6 separate regions of the Homo sapiens genome follow, and regions 2, 3, 4, 5 and 6 are each linked to region 1. Evidence: promoter capture Hi-C in human tissues and cell types (Jung and others, 2019). All regions are on one chromosome and are shown on one strand. The core of a region is centred on a gene start or on the middle of the fragment in contact, and the rest is flanking DNA. Distances in the headings are between cores, read along the strand shown. Region 1 holds the start of STARD10 (StAR related lipid transfer domain containing 10). Region 2 overlaps NUMA1 (nuclear mitotic apparatus protein 1). Region 3 overlaps FAM168A (family with sequence similarity 168 member A). Region 4 overlaps ARHGEF17 (Rho guanine nucleotide exchange factor 17). Region 5 overlaps ARHGEF17 (Rho guanine nucleotide exchange factor 17). Region 6 holds the start of ARHGEF17 (Rho guanine nucleotide exchange factor 17).

Region 1 (2,865 bases), core at 218-2,717:
CATGATCCTGCAGGTGCCATGGTGTGCCTAGGTGCCACCTCGCTTCACCTGGCTGGGGAGTGGCTCCTAGACCTCAGCTCAATGCGCATCACTTCCCCTTCTCATCAGCCAGGCCAGCCCAGGTATCACCTCCAGCTCCACTGCCCCCAGATGGAGTTACCTGAGTACCCAATTCCTCCCAAGCTCAGAAACAGTGTCCACTGCCTTCCCACTCCTTTCCATTCAGAGTCTGTCCCCTTAGTGCTGCCCCCTCATCTGTCACACCTGGGTTCTTTCCCTTACTTGGGCCACTGACCTGAGAAGCAGGGTCTGTACAGCTCCAGCAACACTCTCCTCTTCCTCCAGAATTCTCCAGATCCTCCTCAGCTTCTTGGCTCTGGTGCTCATCTCAACACAGCAGGGTCTTCCTCCATCAGGCCAAGGTGGGGGTAGGAGAAGAATTGGGAACAGGGACTCCCCTAGGTTCTCAGGGTACAGTCAGTCAATCTAAGCCTGTATCCAACAAAGACACTGACCCCTGGGGTACAAGGAAGGGCTCCAGGCCCAAAGGCAGGAGGATTAGGCTTTAGCTCTTGCTCACAGCCTGCTGAGACCTGGGGCAAGCCCCTGTCCCTCTTTGGGCCCTCAGGTTTGCAATTTGCAGAATGAGGAAATGGGTTCCTCAATCTACAATCACCTGACTATAATAATATTTTGCCTTTATATACCGCGTGGGTAAATTCCTGAAAGTAAACTAAGCTGTTTTCACCCCTGGATCTCATTTGATCCTCCCAACAGCCTGTTTGCATTTACAAATGAGAAAGCTCAGTTCCCTAAGGGAACAAAATTACCCAAAGTCACACAGCAAGCTGGAAGCAGAGCCTGGGTGCAGTCCTTGAATCCTGATCCTTCCCTGGTCCTTTACTCTCTATGATGCTGGAAATCTGCCTGACTTCCTCTAACCTGTTGTCCCATTTGTAAAAGGACTGTTGTGAGGACTGAATTAGGAGAGGCGATGAAGAGGGTCATTCCTTGTGAATCATAAAAGAAAGGACCACAGAACGATGACTGGACCGTTAGGTTACTATTTATTACGGTTATCTTCGCTCAGGCGCCCCCACGTGTCGATCCCGAGACTCTCGGCTTGCGCAGGCGCTCTTTGGTGTTTACAGCGGCCGCGAAGCCCCGCGTTTGCGCGTGCGCTTCCCGCCCGGGACCGCCCAGAGGTCCCGGACTAGGGGCGGACTAGGGGCCGCTCTGCCTCCCGCCCCCTAGTGGTTGTGGCCGCTCTGTCACCACGGCTCCCGGGGCCTCTGTCGGCTCCACTTTGGTTGAGACGTCTCCACAGCCCAACAACGGCGGCGATCTGAGGAGAGGCAGGAGAAAATACGGCGCGCTCGGCATCGTCCTTCTGACCGGGGACTCCAGCATCTCAGTCATCGCGTCACCAAGCCCCACGTGCAGGTTCTGGCATCCATCATGGCAAACTGGAGACCGCGGTGAATTCCACCGGAATGGCGCGCGCATTGCCACATGGGAACTGTAGTTCTTGGCTAGGACCTTTCTGGGGCTGGGCCGCTGGAAAAACTACATTTCTCAGGAGCTCAAGAGTCAGGCTGACAGAAAGGGGGCCCGCGGCATGTTGGGAGATGGAGTTTGGGGGGTTCGTGCTAGCAGGGAAACAGTGAAGCAATGGAGCCAAGTGTTCTGAGCCTGGGCCTGTGGGTTTGAGTTGGGCAGGAGTTACACAGTAGCTCTTATAAGAGAGGAGTAGCATTGTTGCGGCTTTTAGAAAGAATGCTACTTATTAGTTGTGTGATCTGAGCGATCAAGACAAATGCCCCTTTATCTTTTTTATTTATTTATTTTTTGAGACAGGGTCTCTGTCTGTCAGGCTGGAGTGCAGTGGCCCCAGAACTGCTGGCCTCCCGCCTCACCCTCCCAAAGTGCTGGGATTATAGGCGTGAGCCATCAGGCCTGGCCAGATGCCTTTTTATCAACTACGATGGACCTTAAGGTTAAGGTTAAGGAAACAAACGTTGCCTACCTCAGGGCTCAGCTGTCAGCTGGCATGGCAACTTCTTAAATTTCTACTGCTGCCAGAAAAACCACACTCTTACTAAACCCCTAGCAATAGGAGCTATCATGCAAATTGTCAGACTCTTCTTTACTGAGATTTACAACTCAGACCACTACAACGCTGATCGACAGAGGACAGGCCTTACAAACATTCTTTCCTGATAAGTAACTGCAGACCTCAGGCCAGTTTCAGCAAGCTCATAGAGACTGCACGCAAACTGTGTTTGTGTCCTATAGTCCACCTTATGATGCAAAGAACCAAATTCCACCTCACTTTAACGCAAAAACCCCATCCCAAAGTGAACATGGAACATATGTTACAGGTGTTTACCCATTGTGCATGCACTCACATCCCCTCATAAATATGTATAGCTTTTCCCCAAAACCTGCTGAATATGTATGATTATTGTGAAATACAGACCCTGTGAGTCATAAACCAGCCTAGGCCGGGAGTGGTGGCTCACGCCTGTAATCCCAGCACTTTGGGAGGCCAAGACGGGCGGATCACGAGGTCAGAAGATTGAGACCATCCTGGCTAACATGGTGAAACCCCGTCTCTACTAAAAATACAAAAAAATTAGCTGGGTGTGGTGGCGGGCGCCTGTAGTCCCAGCTACTCGGGAGGCTGAGGCAGGAGAATGGCATGAACCTGGGAGGTGGAGGTTGCAGTGAGCCGAGATCGCACCACTGCATTCCAGCCTGGGCGACTGAGCGAGACTCCGTCTCAAAAAACAAAAACAAAAAACAACCAGCCTGCCTTTTCCCTATACAAAGAGAGAGCACCTTTGGTACCTACAGGAGAGTGTC
Region 2 (2,865 bases), core at 250-2,749, 760 kb before region 1:
GTATGGTGCGTACTCACATTCTGTCAATGATCTTGATGAAGATGCTGCAGTCCTGGAGCTGCAGCACAGCCTCCACAGGGTCAGCCACGTGTAGACTGTTCACCTGTAAATCAAAGGGAACAGCCTAGTGAGACCGTTAGAAGCAACATGGTTTGCTCCTTTTCCCAGAGGCTTAATGTGAGTGCTTACAGTTGTAGACTATAGGAATACAAGAACTGATGATTCTCAGGTTTTTAATTTCAGGAAGGAGTGCCGTTGCACTCACTCATCCAGTTACAGCCACCTGAAATGCAACCATCAGAGAGCCCTTCCTTTGGCTTCAACTAAATAAAAGCTTAAACTTTCCTAAGATGTTCCAGCACTGGGAGTATTTTGGAAGGATACACCAATAAATTGGTACTACCACTGCTTCTAAAGAGAGGAACTTGACAGCAGGGAGTCTGAGGTGGGAAAAGAAAGGCTCTTACATTATAACTCTCTGTAGCTCTTGAATGTATTATAGCTCTTTGTATTTCTTGAACGTTTACATTATAAGTTTCTGTATCCCTTGGATTTTTATATTATAGTCCTTTGTGGCTCTTGAGTTTTGAAATATCTATTCAAAACTTAAATATTACATATATGCTATACACTCCCACAAACATATAAAATCTTATTAATACATTTTATATTATAGCCCTTTGTGGCTCTTGAGTTTTGAAATATCTATTCAAAACTTAAATATTACATATATGCTATACACTCCCACAAAGATATAAAATCTTATTAATACATTTTTATTCTTTCCACACATAAAGCTTTGGCTGAGGGGAGAAGGGAAAAACAATAGGGGAACAAGATGATTTTTTAAAAAGGGGGTGGAGGGAGCCAAGCGCGGTGGCTCACACCTGTAATCCTAGCACTTTGGGAGGCTGAGGCGGGAAGATCACTTGAGCTCAGGAGTTCAAGACCAACCTGGGCAACATGGTGAAACCCTGTCCTACAAAAAATACAAAAAATTAGCCAGGAGTGGTGGCACATACCTGTAGTCCCAGCTACTTAGAAGGCTGAGGTGGGAGGATCACCTTAGCCCAGGGAGGTCGAGGCTGCAGTGAGCTGGGATTGCATCACTGTACTCTAGCCTGAGTGACAGAGCAAGACCCTGTCTCCAAAGGAAAAAAAAAAAGAAAAGAAAAGAAAAAAAAAGGGGGCGGTGGGGGATGAAAGAATAGGAGCTGGGAATTTCAAAGAAAAACTTCTTAATTCTAATTTAGTTGCCTGTTCCCATTCTTTGGCTTCAGATAGGCATACATTTAAATCAGTTTTTACCACTAGAATATTCACCAGGGGTCACACACATCAGGTACACAGGTTATTCAATAAGTATACATGGTCAACCTCTACAGGAAAACCTCATGAATTCCACAGGCACTACAGTTCAGAAGTAGCCTGGGCTGAAGTTTACGTTTTTATTACTATAGGAAGAAAGGGTTTGCTAAGTTAATTATTCACATATTCAACACTAAGAGGGGAGAGAGACTGAGCCTGCTTTAAGAAACAAGGTATTTTAAAGAACTTCAGCATAGTGGTTATGTGCAGACAACTAGATTCTATTGCTTACAAATGTGTTCTCTATATTTGGGCTGGGAGCCAGTACATACACACTTTGGGCCCAGCTCCTCCACAAACTTGCCAGCAACCTTTGTTACAAACTTTATTTCTCTCTGCACTAGTTTCCTCCCTTGCCAAATGGATGGAATCCCTACTTTATCTACTTCAAAGGACCAGTGTGAGCTCAAATGGGATTATGGATGCAAGAACACATTAAAAAATATAAAGTAGGCCAGGTGCAGTGGCTCACACCTGTAATCCCAGCACTTTGGGAGGCTGAGGTAGGGGGACTGCTTGAGGCTGGGAGTTTAGGACCACCCTGGGCAACATAACAATACCTTGTCTCTACTAAATAAATAAATAAGCAAGCAAGCAAGCTGGACATGGTGACATGTGCCTGTAAGTCCTACCTACATAAGAGGCTGAGGTAGGTGGATCATTTGAGCCCAGGAGCTGGAGAAGTTACAATGAGCTATGATAGTGTCCCTGCACTGTGGCCTGGGCAACAGAGACATCTCAAAAAAAAAAAGAAAAAAGAAAAACTAATAAACATAAAGCACTATTATGGTTAATAAAATTAAAATAATGAAGTAGACATAACATTTGTATTTCTTAATAGTTAAGTTAGCTGCATGCACTATAGAATTAAGAGGATTTTTAAAAATCAATGATTTCTCTACAGACATGATAGTATTTATTTGAGTTAAACACTTTCACATTTAAAAACAACTTTTAGGCCAGGCGCAGTGGCCCATGCCTGTAATCCCAGCACTTGGGGAGGCTGAGGTGGAAGGACTGCTTGAGGCCAGGAGTTCAAGACCAGCCTGGGCAACATAAGGAGACCCTGGCTCTACAAAATAATAATTTAAAAAAATTTTTAGCTGGGTGAGGTGGCTTGCGCCTGTATGCTCGCGTAGTCCCTGCTACTCGGGAGGCTGACGTGGGAAGATCGCTTGAGCCTGGGAGGTCAAGGCTACAGCGAGCTATGATCACACCACTGCACTCTAGCCTGGCCAACGGATTGAGACCCTGTCTCAAAAAAATAAATAAATAAATAAATACAACATTTAGGCTAGGTGTGGTGGCTCATGCCTGTAATCCCAGTGCTTTGGGAGGACGAGGAGGGAGAATCGCTTGAGGCCAGGAGTTTGAGATCAGCCTAGGCAACATAGCAAGACCCTTTCCCCAAAAAATTAAAAAAAAAAAAAAAAAGAGAGAGAAAGGAAAAATAGCCCAGCATGGTGGTGCATGCCTGTGGTCCTAGCTACTCAGGAG
Region 3 (2,865 bases), core at 148-2,647, 740 kb after region 1:
CACCCTCCCAGGTAGCTGGAACCACAGGCGCACACCATCATGCCTGGCTAATTTTTTTTTTTTTTTTTTTTTGGTAGAGAAAGATTTTCACCATGTTGCCCAGGCTGGTCTCAAGCTCCTGGACTCAAGCAGTCTACCCTCCTTGGCCTCCCAAAGTGTTTAGATCACAGGCATGAGCCACCATGCCTGGCCCCAAGTATTACTTTCACTGTAAACTTTTCTCCAGTCATTCCCTGCACCCTTGATCTGGGCAAAATTAATGATTATCTGTTTAGTGCTCTTTATACATCTCTCATTATAACTTATTATGCTGTAATGTAATTATTTGTGTGTCTCTTTCCAAACAAACCATGAGATTCTTATCAGGACATATACCTACCCCACCCCTGCCCAGTGCCTGTTATTATTCCTAGTACACCGCAGGAGTAATGTATATAAAATTGCTCTACTGAATTGCCTGGATAAACTCAGCCTTTAAGCCTAAGAATGAATGGATCCTGGAGCCCTAAGATTTCCCAATTCATGACAAATCCTTCCTGGGGTCTAGAACATTAGGCTGTACTAGAAATTCAGTAAATATTTGTACTTGAGAGCTTAAGTATTTCTTTGTGCCAAACCAGCAATGCAACTGTATATCTTTAGAGCTTCCACTAAAGGAATCAGTTTTTTGCAAGTCCAAACACAACAGTTCTTTATCCTCCTCCTCTACATAAATTGGAAAATAGACTGAGAATTCCAATCAGCTGAAACCTTCCCAGAGAAGAGGACTTGGTTGTTTACTACAGTTCAAACCATTGCTATCTAAATTTCAATGTTGGTGGCATATTTTTTCTTTTGGCAGCTCATTCTGACTTAGGGCGGATGCATCATGCACCGCAATCAGAGAGCAGGAGTTGGAGTCAAAAGAAGAGAATGAGTCCCAGACACTGTCATGCCTTATTTTTTCAGGTGAACTTGGACAAGTCATTTAATCTCTCTGAACTTCAATTTTCAGCTGGGAAAGAGGAAAAATGCTACCTGTCCCACCAGGCTACTACAGGATCAAATGAGAAGTATTCCTTACTGCATTGCTCTCTGACCTTAAGAATTTGACCTTCTCTGTAGAAGTCCATATACAAAGGCTAGAACAGAGAAACGACAGAGCAGTAAGGTTCGAATCAGACAACCTGAGATTAGTCCCAGCTTACCACTCAATTATGTGATAGAGCAAGGCATTTAATTCTCTGAACTTCAGATTGTCCAATCTATAAAATGGGGATAATCCCACCTGCCCTACTTACCTTATAGAATCATTATGAAGCTTTAAAAAATGAGATAATATAGATGAAAGCAATTTATTTGAGAAATCATGAAGTTTCATTATAATATGTCACTTACGTGGAATTCAGCAACCCAATTACCTTGTCTTTCTGGAACACACAGAGAACTAGGAAGCAAGCAAAAAAGGTCTCTCTAAAGCCAAAATAACTGTCTTTAATTCTTCACACTTTACTACTAGTAGAGTCCCTAGGGCCTTACTCTTCCTTTGAAAACACATCTAATAAACCGTAATTTGGGAGCACCACACAGAGTAGGAGAAAAGTGACCAAGTAAGAAAGGAGAACCATATTCTCTGTTGTGTTTCACCAACAGCAAGGAGAAAAGGCCAAAAAAAAAATTCAAAACAACCACAAAAATCTAAAAAGCATAGTATTCACACCAAAAAGTGGCTTTTAGCTTTTTTGTTTTAAAGTACAGTATTAGGGTATTTAGTATAAAATGTATTACTGTAACATAAAAAAGCAGACTAGCTGATGTTCAAAATAATTAACTTGAACCTCAAGAAAGATTCAATAATGTTCTGACTATTCTGAAGAGGGTAATATATAATGTTTTTAGGGAGAAAATTCACTCAAAACAGTAAACTTTTGGGGGGAGTGCTTAAATGAATAAAGCATCAACTGTCAAGGTAAGTTAGTCATCTGGTGGGTGCCTCTACCTAATTTGCTAATGGACATAAAAATTTATTGGTGGAATTATGAATAAGTGCCCTAAGGTCACACAGCTTGTTAAGCAATAGATTCAAAACCCAAGCCTCTCAGAATCAAAAGCCCATACTCTTCCCAGTGCAAATAGCTACCTTCAAACATGGTAATACATGATTTCTTCACCTGTCAAACAGGGAATGAAATGCTGATACAGACATCTTCATAGAGTTGATAAACTGAATAAATGTCCTCTCCTTAGACCCTACTTTTGGATTTTAAATGAAGTGTAAAACCATAAAAACAAAGAGAAATGGAGACGAGCAATAGCCATAAAATACTGAAAGCTAGAAAGCAGATGGATGAGCAGAAACTGACTTATTAGATCCAAGGAAAATGAATACTAAGTCAGCAGTGGGAAAAAACAAAAACTAACTCAATTTTACCTGTAGAAGCCACACAAGGCTCAGAAACTGGCAGTATCATGTATTTCTTTCTTTCATTTTTTATTTTTATTTATTTATTTTTTTTTTTTTGAGACGGAGTCTCACTCTGTCACCCAGGCTGGAGCGCAATGGTGCGATCGCAGTTCACTGCAACCTCCACCTCCTGGGTTCAAGCAATTCTCCTCCCTCAGCCTCCCGAGTAACTGGGATTACAGGAGCCCACCACCACGCCTGGAAAATTTTTGTATTTTTAGTAGAGACGGGGTTTCGTCATGTTGGCCAGGCTGGTCTCGAACTCCTGACCTCAGGTGATCTGGCCCCCTCAGCCTCCCAAAGTGCTGGGATTACAGGGTGTAAGCCACCACACCCGGCAGTACCATATATTTCTAGAAAGAAAGCATGCTAAAATCAGGGGAATTGATTACATGAAAATCTGTCTGAGAACCAGTTAAAGA
Region 4 (2,865 bases), core at 209-2,708, 550 kb after region 1:
CTCGGGGGAACAGCCCGGAGCCCTGGGCGGCAGGAGGGAAGGGCCAGGAGGGCAGGGAGAGGGTGTGGGCGGGTTCTCTGGGCACCATGTGGCTACAGGTGATGGGGTCTGGGGGGAAAAAGACCCCTGTTCACCCTCTGCTCCTGTCCCCACAGGACATGCGGAAGCACGTGGCCATGACCCTGCTGGACACAGAGCAGTCGTATGTGGAGTCGCTGCGCACCCTGATGCAGGTGGGGCTCGGGGCCCACTCCCCTGAGAATGGCCTTTCTGAGCCTAGGAGGCTGTCAGATGGGTGTGAGCAAACCCCTTTCATGGACAAGGGACTGAGGCCAGAGAGCCGTGTCCCTGGCATCCGTCGCCTTTCCATGAAGAACCCCCAGCATGGCCATTCCAGAGAAGGAGGAAGGCTTCTCCCGGGCAAGAGAGAATGCAGAGGGGCCAGGCCACCCCAGGGCAGGCGTCCCTACCCTGCTGTTCTTCCACGTCCCCCTGGCAACCCTGACCCTGAACTTAGATCCGTGAACTCCCTCTGATGTGCCGCCTCCATTGTATTCACTGACTGGGAAGTATGAGTTGAATAGAGTTCAGTATTGAGCACCTGCTGTGTGCAGGCCCTGTTCCAGGTGCAGGAGACACAGGAATGAATAAGAGAGCCCAGCCCCTGCCACAGGAGCTCACCGCCCTGCTGAGTACGTAGTGGAGTATACGGGCACTCTAGAAACATCGAGGGGCACCTGCTAAGCGTGGGGTCAGGGAGGTTTCCTGGAGGAGGTGCTCACTTCCACCATGACCTGTCTTCTCAACAGCAGGAATAGCACATTGCAAAGCCAAGTGAGGCCTGGCACATTCGGAGGTCTACGTGGCCAGCACAGAGCACAACGCGCTGGTCCCATAGCTATGCTGTCGGAGTCGGCAGAGGCCACGCTGTGGGGGCCTAGAACACCAGTTGGAGGCAGTAGATTCTGCCAGGGTCCGTGGATGATCAGCGAAGGGCTTTGAGCAGGGGAGGTGTGTGGCCTGATTCATGCTTCATGAAGTCTGTCTGACAGCTGGGAAGGTGGGTGGCAGAAGAGGAGGTCAAGGCCATTGAGATCCGGCAAGGATAGAGGTTACAGGAAGGGAGTGCTGGGGACAGACACTCAGGAAGTGGACTGGTCAGGCCAGGCGTGGTAACTGGTTGGTTGTGGGGGGCAAGGTGGGGAAGCCCAAGATGATGTCTGGGCTCCTGGCCTCGGATAGGTGGGGCCCAGGGGAGAAGCACAACTGGAGCAAGGTGGTGAGTTCAGGCTCAGACATGAACCTGGGAAGGCCCACAGCCTGGATGCACACATGGCCTGGGGCTGGATGAGTGTGGACCTGAGCTGAAGTGGGGCCTGGCAGTCACCATTGAGGATGAATTTGCCCAAGCTAGCTGGGCAGAGTGACAGCAAAGGGTAAAGGTAGAACCTTCACCCTATGGAAACATCCAGAGCATTCACTCACTCACCATTCATTCATTCATTCACTCACTCCACAAATCCACGGTGAGCCCCTTCTGCGCTCCAGGTAGTGTTCTCTGTGCAGGGGCATTAGTGGTAAGGGCCTGTCTCCTGGAGCTCACGGTCTATGGCAGAGACTGACAGTGACCAGCCAGACATCAACACACAGTGGCATGTGGTGATGCAGAAGTGCACACACAGAGAACCTACACACAACAGGGATACGCCTTAAAAGGAGGGAAATTCTGACATCCTACAACATGGATGAGCCTGGAGGACATGATGCCAAGTGAAAGAAGCCAGTCTCAAAGGACAAGCACTGTCTGATTCCACTTGCATGAGGTTCCTGGGGTAGTCAGACTCAGAGATGGAAGGTAGGATGGTGGGTGCCAGGGAAAGGGTGCCAGGCTGGGAAAGGAGGGAATGGGGAGTTACTATTTAATGGGTGTACAGGGTTGCAGTTTTACAGGATAAAAAGAGTTTTAGAGCTGGATGGTCACACATTATGAATGTATTTAATACCATTGAACTGTACATTTAAAATGGTAAATTTTATATTATATGTATTTTACCATAAAATACAATGCGTTTGTTTATTGTTTTTAAAAAGTGCATGGGGAGATGAGAACACAGAAGGGGGCCTACCCTGGTGTCGGGGTCAGGGAGGGCTTCCCTGGGGTTGGGGTATTTAGCTGAGACCTGAAGGGTGAGTAGATTTCAGCAGAAAGAGCCCGGAGGGATGGCTCCCAGCAGAGGGTATGTCAGGGACAAAGGCCAGGAGGCTGGAAGGAACCTAGAGCAGCAGGGAACCAGAGGTGGCCAGGTGGCTGCAGGAAGGAAGGCTGCTGGGCATGGAGCTGGGCTTTCCTGTGCACGCAAGGAAGCCATGGGAGGATGCAGCCAGAATGCCAGGCAGGAGGAGTAGACATGGCAGGGGCCTGAGGGGGTCCTTTGCCATCCCCTAGATGAGAGTTGGAGGCATTAGGGTCAGACAGTCCAGGGTTGAAGTCACGTGCGTCCTCACTGGGTGATACTAGCCTAATCACCTCACCTTCTCTGAGCCTCAAGTTTGCCTGCAAAATGTAGCTAATCTACCTATCTCCCATCAAGAAGACTTAAAGGTGAGCCAGGCGCGGAGGCTCACACCTCTAATCCCAGCACTTTGGGAGGCTGAGGTAGGCGGATCACCTGAGGTCAGGAGTTCAAGACCAGCCTAGCCAACGTGGTGAAACCTCATCTCTACTAGAAATACAAAAATCAGCTGGGTGTGGTGGCAGGCTACCTGTAATCCCAGCTCCTCCAGAGGCTGAGGCAGGAGAATAGCTTGAACCCGGGAGGCAGAGGTTGCAGCGAGCCGAGATCCTGCCACTGCACTCCAGCCTGG
Region 5 (2,865 bases), core at 163-2,662, 530 kb after region 1:
ACTTGATCCCAGAGTGGTAATTTCCAAGCTCACGGCTGTAATCCCAGCACTTTGGGAGGCCGAGGTTGGGAGGCCGAGGAGGGCGGATCACCTGAGGTCAGGAGTTCAAGACCAGCCTGGTCAACATGGTAAAACCACATCTCTACTAGAAATACAAAAATTAGCTGGGCCTGGTGGCATACGCCTGTAATTCCAGCTACTCGGGAGGCTGAGGCAGGAGAATCGCTTGAACCCAGGAGGTAGAGGTTGCAGTGCACCGAGATTGCACATTGCACTCCAACCTGGGCAACCAAGAGTGAAACTCCGTCTCAAAAAATTAAAAAATAAATAAATGAATAAAAATAAAAATAGTGGAACCTTTTCTTCTAGAGGAATCTTGACACAGAAGTATAAAGCAGGCTGATCTCATTGATTTAAGTGAAAGTAGGGTCATGTCTGCCCCCTGGACCACATCTCACGCCATGTATTTCCATGGAGCTTTCAGGACTCAGTCAGGAAATCTCTGTTGTGGAAAGAGGGAAGCCCTCCCTGATGGGAGGCGTTAGAGTGAGACAAGCCTCTCCCTTCAGTGTCTCTGCAGGCTCAGAAGGGCAACCAGCCAGGCTCCCTGGGCAGGGGTAAACTCTGTTGGGGGCCAGGTCTCCAGACGCAGCCAGGATGATGGAGCATACCACCCATCCTTGGTGCTCCTATGAGCAGGCAGCACCTCCCACCCGGGGCCTGGAGCTGGCTGGGCCCCACTTGATCAGAAGGACAAACTGTTGGAGTGGTGGGAAAATCCTGCCTGCCCCCTGCTGACACCTGGAAGGACACAGGCCCTTTGAGGGAGGTAGGAGCTGGCAACCAGCTACGCTCCCAGAATGTGCACCCTGTCTCAGCCCAGCTCAGTCACACTGACAGTGGACAGGCAGGAGCACATTCTCTAGAGGTCCAGGAATCGTCCTGACTCCTGTAGGATGAGTGAATTAGGTTAGAATCAGGAAGGAATTCCCCAGAGTTTGTAGTGTGTAAAAGGAAGAGTATGAACAAGTGTTGGCAGGAGAAAGACTGAGCTCTGAGGCTGGCAGGTCTGAGGCCCTTCAGGACCTAGGCCTTGCCCCGCTTAGTAGACCAGCCTGCCTGGTCCACCATACAGCCTAAGCTCCCACTTCTTTGGCCACGAAAAATGTAGAATGAGTAGGAAGTTGCCAAACATAGACATAGGAAGCCACACCTGGCAGAGAGACCAGCATGTGCAAAGGGCCCAGGGTGTAACAATGCGATGGGTTGGAGGAACTACTGTGGCCAGAACATGATGCAGCCAGACCGTGGTAAAGGTGGGGAAATTTGATGCTGGTGAGTCAGCAAGGGCCAGGTCATTGAGACTCTCGGGGGACAAGTACTTGATCTTACATTCAGCTGGGTTAGTGTAATGGTTAGAACAGACTGAAGCCAGATGGCTTTCTTCAAATCCTGCTCTTCCTCTTAGTTTTGTGGATAGTCCTGGGTAATTATTCATTGGAAAAGCTGAGTACTCACGTGTTAGTACTTAGTCCCTCTGTGGCTCAGTTTATGTACCTGTAAAATGGGGATGATGATGATGGCACCTATTATAGGGTTATGGTGAGAATTTGATGTGATTATGTCTGTGGTGGCTGGGCTGGACCACAGACCACTGGGGATCAGTGGGAAGCCGTAAAACAAGTTGGAAGGGAGGGAGGGAAGTGACCTAGCTGGCTGAGGAAGAGCCCCAGGGATGGAGAGAAGAGGATGGGGTCACTGAGAGTAGCCCAGGTAATCCTCTTTGGTAGGGGGATGAGCTGAGCTCCCTGAGGGAGGCTTGGAGTTCCCCACGGGCAGCTGTCCAAAGGAAAAGAGTGGGGCTATGCAGGAGGGATGGGACTCTGCAGGCTGGGGGCTCTGCCGGAGTTTTGCTAGCAGAAATCCCCACCTTGCTTTAAAGTTGCCCATCACTGACTCTGGAGCAGCTGGTCTGTGTTCCTTGCCATACAGATGGGGGCCCAGAGAGGGGCAGGGTTGCCAGAGTCACCCAGTGACTTCTGACCCCAGGACCTTCCTCCAGGCTGGGGACTCACTTTGAAGCTCAAAGCCCAGCCCTGAGGTCGCTCTACCCAAGGCAGGGGTTGAGCGTTTGGCTTGAAGGAGGAATTGGACAGTTCTACCCCAGTCTGAATGTGATTTGGGCAGGGAGGGCTTCCTGGAGGAACACCACATGTGAGACTGGAACTGTCCCAGAGGAGACCAATGTGGAAACAGAAGAGGGAAAGCAAAGACAAAGGCTCCAAACTTGGGGCTCCAAGGCAGTGCCCCCTGTTCTCTGGTGCAGTCTTCATTCAGTGGGAACCTCGTCCTCTGTATGTAGGCTGGGAACACAGGTGGTGCCCCAGCTATGAGGAGGCACAGACTGAGACAGGAACATCAGGCCTGTGTCACCAGGGCAGGGTCCGGGCTGGGGCAGAGATACTCCGAGGCCAGGGGAGCCCAGAAGGTCTAGGAGAGAGAGTCATGGAGGGAGCCTAGAGAGGCAGGATGGAGAAGGAAGAAGAGGGGTGCAAAGGCTGTTCAGAGATGAGACGTGAGGCTGGAGTGGGCAGCAGGGGCCTGATTGCAAGGTGAATTTTTTAAATTAAATTTATATATTTAATATTTTGAATAGATGATATATTCACATGGTTAGGAAAAATCCAAAAGGATAAAAAGTCTCCTTCCCACCTGGCTGCCTATTTCCTACCCTGCCTGACCCCAGGCCACCCAGCTAGTAGTGTCTTTGTGAATCCTTTTATCTGCAAACACCAGCAAATTCATCATCTGTTCCCTTCCTGCACACAGATGGTAGCACACCGCTTTGCCCCTTGCTCGTTACAC
Region 6 (2,865 bases), core at 243-2,742, 510 kb after region 1:
TCAGGATTTGGGGGTGCATCTCAGAGCTGGCTGGAGGAGCATGGTGTTTGAAGCCCCTGAAATCTGAATTTTAGCAGGAGCTGCTATTTCCTGACTTGCATAGTGGTCAAAGTTACTTCTCCTTCACGGTCCACAGAGAAGGGGTAATAATATTTGTCCCCAAGGGTGGTTTGTGGATTTTAAAAAATAAGTTAAATAATATTGCCCATACATTATAGGTACTCCATACATTTTCATTCGTTCGTTCATTCGTTAGTTGGGCCGGGAGGATGAATGGGATCTAGAGGCAGGTGGGAATGCGGAAGGGGATGATGCCCCAATACCGAGAACAATGTGAGACTCAGACGGAGGCAGGGGCGGGAGGGGAGCTCAAGCGAGGGATCAGCGTGAAGCCAGAGAAACAACCGACACTTTTCCTGCCAAGAAGGTGAAGCAGCTGCGGGTAAGAGTATAGGTTTGGCAGTGGGAAGTCGAGGGCGTTCCCGTCGAAGCTCCTTTTGTGTATAAGGCCTAAGAAGGGGCAGTGCGCTTTGCGAAGGTCTGAAAAAGACTAAGGGGATTAGGTAACGACTGAAAGGAAGTTTTCACAACTCTCCGTTTTTGGGGGATGGGTGCTGCTTTATCCGTCCAGGACTCCGTGCGTTGGGAAAATCACGCCGCGAGGGGGCGCAAGAGCCGCGTACTCCAGAGCAAGAAGAAAAGGCTCGGGGATCCAGGCGGAGAGTCCAGGAGAAGAGCCGCCAGACTGCAGGGGCAGGTGGAAGGCGTGGCAGCTGGAAAAGTAGGGGTGGGGGCGCGGTCGTGAAGGGTGGGACTTCTGGAGCAACGCTGGGCGGGTTGGGGGCCGGTCGGAGCCGGACAGGCGGCTGGGAGGTGGGATGGGCGGGGCGCTTGGGAGCGAGATGGGGGGACAAGGGCGTGGCTACAGCTAAATTCGCCGCAGAGGGCGGGCGGGGAGGGGGAGGGAAGGGGAGGAGGCGTGGCCTGGGCGGGGAGTAGGGCGCGACGGACCCTTCAGTTAGCCCGCGGCTCCCCGGGCTCTCCCTGGCGCCGAGTCCCACCCCTTTCCCGGCCCAGAGAGTGTGCGTCTGCGTGCACCTGAGTGTCAGTGTGTACGAGAGTTTGTGAGTCCGAGGTTGCCATGTTGGAGCCCCTGGGCAGGAGGTGTTTCCGCGCGGAGGCTGGTGGCCCGCGGTGGACGCGGCGCCCTGGCTGCGAGTCTGCGGAGCTGAGCACGCTCAGCGGTTGTGTGTGTCTCAGCGACTCCCTGGGGGCAGCTCGGCCTGCTGGGCTCCCGAGGGACCTCTCTGGAGGGCCAGAGGGTCGCCTCAGTCTGCAAGTCCTCCAGCAGGCTTTTTCTTCTTCGGCTCCTCCCTGATTCCCTCCCACCACGCGGTTCCCAGGCTCGCGCACGCCCGGAGCCCACCCCCTCTTTTGGGCGCGAGGCCCCGCCCCCCGCCCCCTTGCCTCTGCCGCAAAGTTTATTTGCAACAAAAGGGTGCCAGGAGCGAGCAGCCAAGGGCGTTGGGCAGGCGGACGCAGAGTCGAGGAACCAAGCGCTGGGATCCCGCCCAGGCGGTGCCGCGGTGCCCCTGGTCGCTCCAGCCGCGGCGGGGGCTGGGCCTGGGGGTCGGCGCTGAGGCGGGAGGGGCCGCCCGGGATGGAGACGTTGCGGCCGGTGGCCACAGAAACTTGAGCCGCGGCAGAGAAACCTCTGCTCCGGTCTCTGCGTCCTCTTCCCACACTCCCGTGCGCTGCTTTCGGCGTGGGCCGCTGCGCTCCTAGGGAGTGGGGGCGCAGGGGGGGTTGGCCGCGGCTGCCCGAGGCCAGCCCCCCCGGAGTGAGTTACGCCACTATGGCGGACGGGGCACCCCGGCCCCAGCTTTACCGCAGCGTCTCGTTCAAGCTGCTGGAGCGCTGGAGCGGCGGCCCCGGGCTGAGGGAGGAGGACACGGACACCCCCGGCTTGAGGCGACGCGCCTCGTGCCGGCCGACCACGGCTGCCCGGGGCCAGCCCTCTCGGCGCGTGTCCAAGCTGGCGTCTGGGCCCCTGGCCGCCCCCGCGCAGCCGCGCCCGCTCCGCAGCCTCTCGCCGTCGGTTCGCCAGCTCTCCCGGCGCTTCGACGCGCCGCGTCTGGACGACGGCTCCGCTGGGACCCGAGACGGAGGCGTCTTACCCGCGGCCGCGGAAGAAGCGGCCGAGGGCCCAGCGCGAGGAGCCTGGCCCAGCGTCACCGAGATGCGCAAGCTCTTCGGCGGTCCTGGCTCCAGGAGGCCCAGCGCCGACTCTGAATCCCCAGGAACGCCCAGCCCCGACGGTGCCGCGTGGGAGCCTCCGGCTCGGGAGTCGCGGCAGCCACCGACGCCACCCCCTCGGACATGCTTCCCCCTGGCGGGTCTGCGTTCGGCGCGGCCCCTGACCGGGCCGGAGACCGAAGGGAGGCTGCGCCGGCCGCAGCAGCAACAGGAGCGGGCGCAGCGTCCAGCGGATGGTTTACATTCTTGGCATATCTTCTCCCAACCGCAGGCCGGGGCCCGGGCCTCCTGCTCCTCCTCCTCCATCGCCGCCTCCTATCCTGTCAGCCGCAGTCGTGCTGCCAGCTCCAGCGAGGAGGAAGAGGAGGGCCCGCCGCAGCTGCCTGGAGCCCAGAGTCCGGCCTACCACGGCGGCCACTCCTCGGGCAGTGACGACGACCGAGACGGTGAGGGCGGCCACCGCTGGGGAGGGAGGCCCGGGCTCAGGCCTGGAAGCTCCCTATTGGATCAGGACTGCAGGCCTGACAGTGATGGGTTAAATCTAAGCAGCATGAACTCAGCAGGGGTTTCTGGGAGCCCTGAGCCCCCAACATCTCCAAGAGCCCCTAG

The links. Contacts are between HindIII fragments. The study calls those that stand out against the background at their distance.
Region 2: a contact is called between a fragment that was not itself captured here and the fragment with the promoter of STARD10 in region 1, in 2 of the 25 tissues and cell types used here (dorsolateral prefrontal cortex and pancreas).
Region 3: a fragment that was not itself captured here is called in contact with the fragment with the promoter of STARD10 in region 1 in 2 of the 25 tissues and cell types used here (heart right ventricle and lymphoblastoid cells).
Region 4: a fragment that was not itself captured here is called in contact with the fragment with the promoter of STARD10 in region 1 in 2 of the 25 tissues and cell types used here (adrenal gland and dorsolateral prefrontal cortex).
Region 5: a contact is called between a fragment that was not itself captured here and the fragment with the promoter of STARD10 in region 1, in 4 of the 25 tissues and cell types used here (H1 embryonic stem cells, liver, mesenchymal stem cells and 1 more).
Region 6: the fragment with the promoter of ARHGEF17 here is called in contact with the fragment with the promoter of STARD10 in region 1 in 5 of the 25 tissues and cell types used here (lymphoblastoid cells, mesenchymal stem cells, mesendoderm cells and 2 more).

What each region holds. Positions count from the first base shown.
Region 1 is chr11:72,792,580-72,795,444 of GRCh38, forward strand. STARD10 (StAR related lipid transfer domain containing 10) reads right to left here and starts at 1,468. Exons shown (of 7, transcript NM_006645.3): 1 at 296-1,468. RefSeq lists enhancers at 1-92, 1,224-1,793. The HindIII fragment of the contact is 19,379 bases long and covers 1-2,865 here.
Region 2 is chr11:72,029,188-72,032,052 of GRCh38, forward strand. NUMA1 (nuclear mitotic apparatus protein 1) reads right to left here. Exons shown (of 27, transcript NM_006185.4): 4 at 18-103. Among named protein-coding and RNA genes, the nearest start is that of NUMA1-AS1, 16 kb to the left of the region's middle. The HindIII fragment of the contact is 4,468 bases long and covers 1-2,865 here.
Region 3 is chr11:73,531,921-73,534,785 of GRCh38, forward strand. The region is part of intron 1 of FAM168A (family with sequence similarity 168 member A); the gene reads right to left. Among named protein-coding and RNA genes, the nearest start is that of FAM168A, 65 kb to the right of the region's middle. The HindIII fragment of the contact is 5,334 bases long and covers 1-2,865 here.
Region 4 is chr11:73,346,728-73,349,592 of GRCh38, forward strand. ARHGEF17 (Rho guanine nucleotide exchange factor 17) reads left to right here. Exons shown (of 21, transcript NM_014786.4): 2 at 156-233. Among named protein-coding and RNA genes, the nearest start is that of RELT, 28 kb to the right of the region's middle. The HindIII fragment of the contact is 8,075 bases long and covers 1-2,865 here.
Region 5 is chr11:73,326,411-73,329,275 of GRCh38, forward strand. The region is part of intron 1 of ARHGEF17 (Rho guanine nucleotide exchange factor 17); the gene reads left to right. Among named protein-coding and RNA genes, the nearest start is that of ARHGEF17-AS1, 18 kb to the left of the region's middle. The HindIII fragment of the contact is 4,464 bases long and covers 1-2,865 here.
Region 6 is chr11:73,306,784-73,309,648 of GRCh38, forward strand. ARHGEF17 (Rho guanine nucleotide exchange factor 17) reads left to right here and starts at 1,493. Exons shown (of 21, transcript NM_014786.4): 1 at 1,493-2,865. The coding sequence starts at 1,856. ARHGEF17-AS1 (ARHGEF17 antisense RNA 1) reads right to left here and starts at 2,578. Exons shown (of 3, transcript NR_147696.1): 1 at 1,889-2,578; 2 at 1,099-1,781; 3 at 728-773. RefSeq lists silencers at 865-1,004, 1,405-1,734, 1,965-2,184 and enhancers at 1,605-2,482, 2,488-2,865. The HindIII fragment of the contact is 12,473 bases long and covers 1-2,865 here.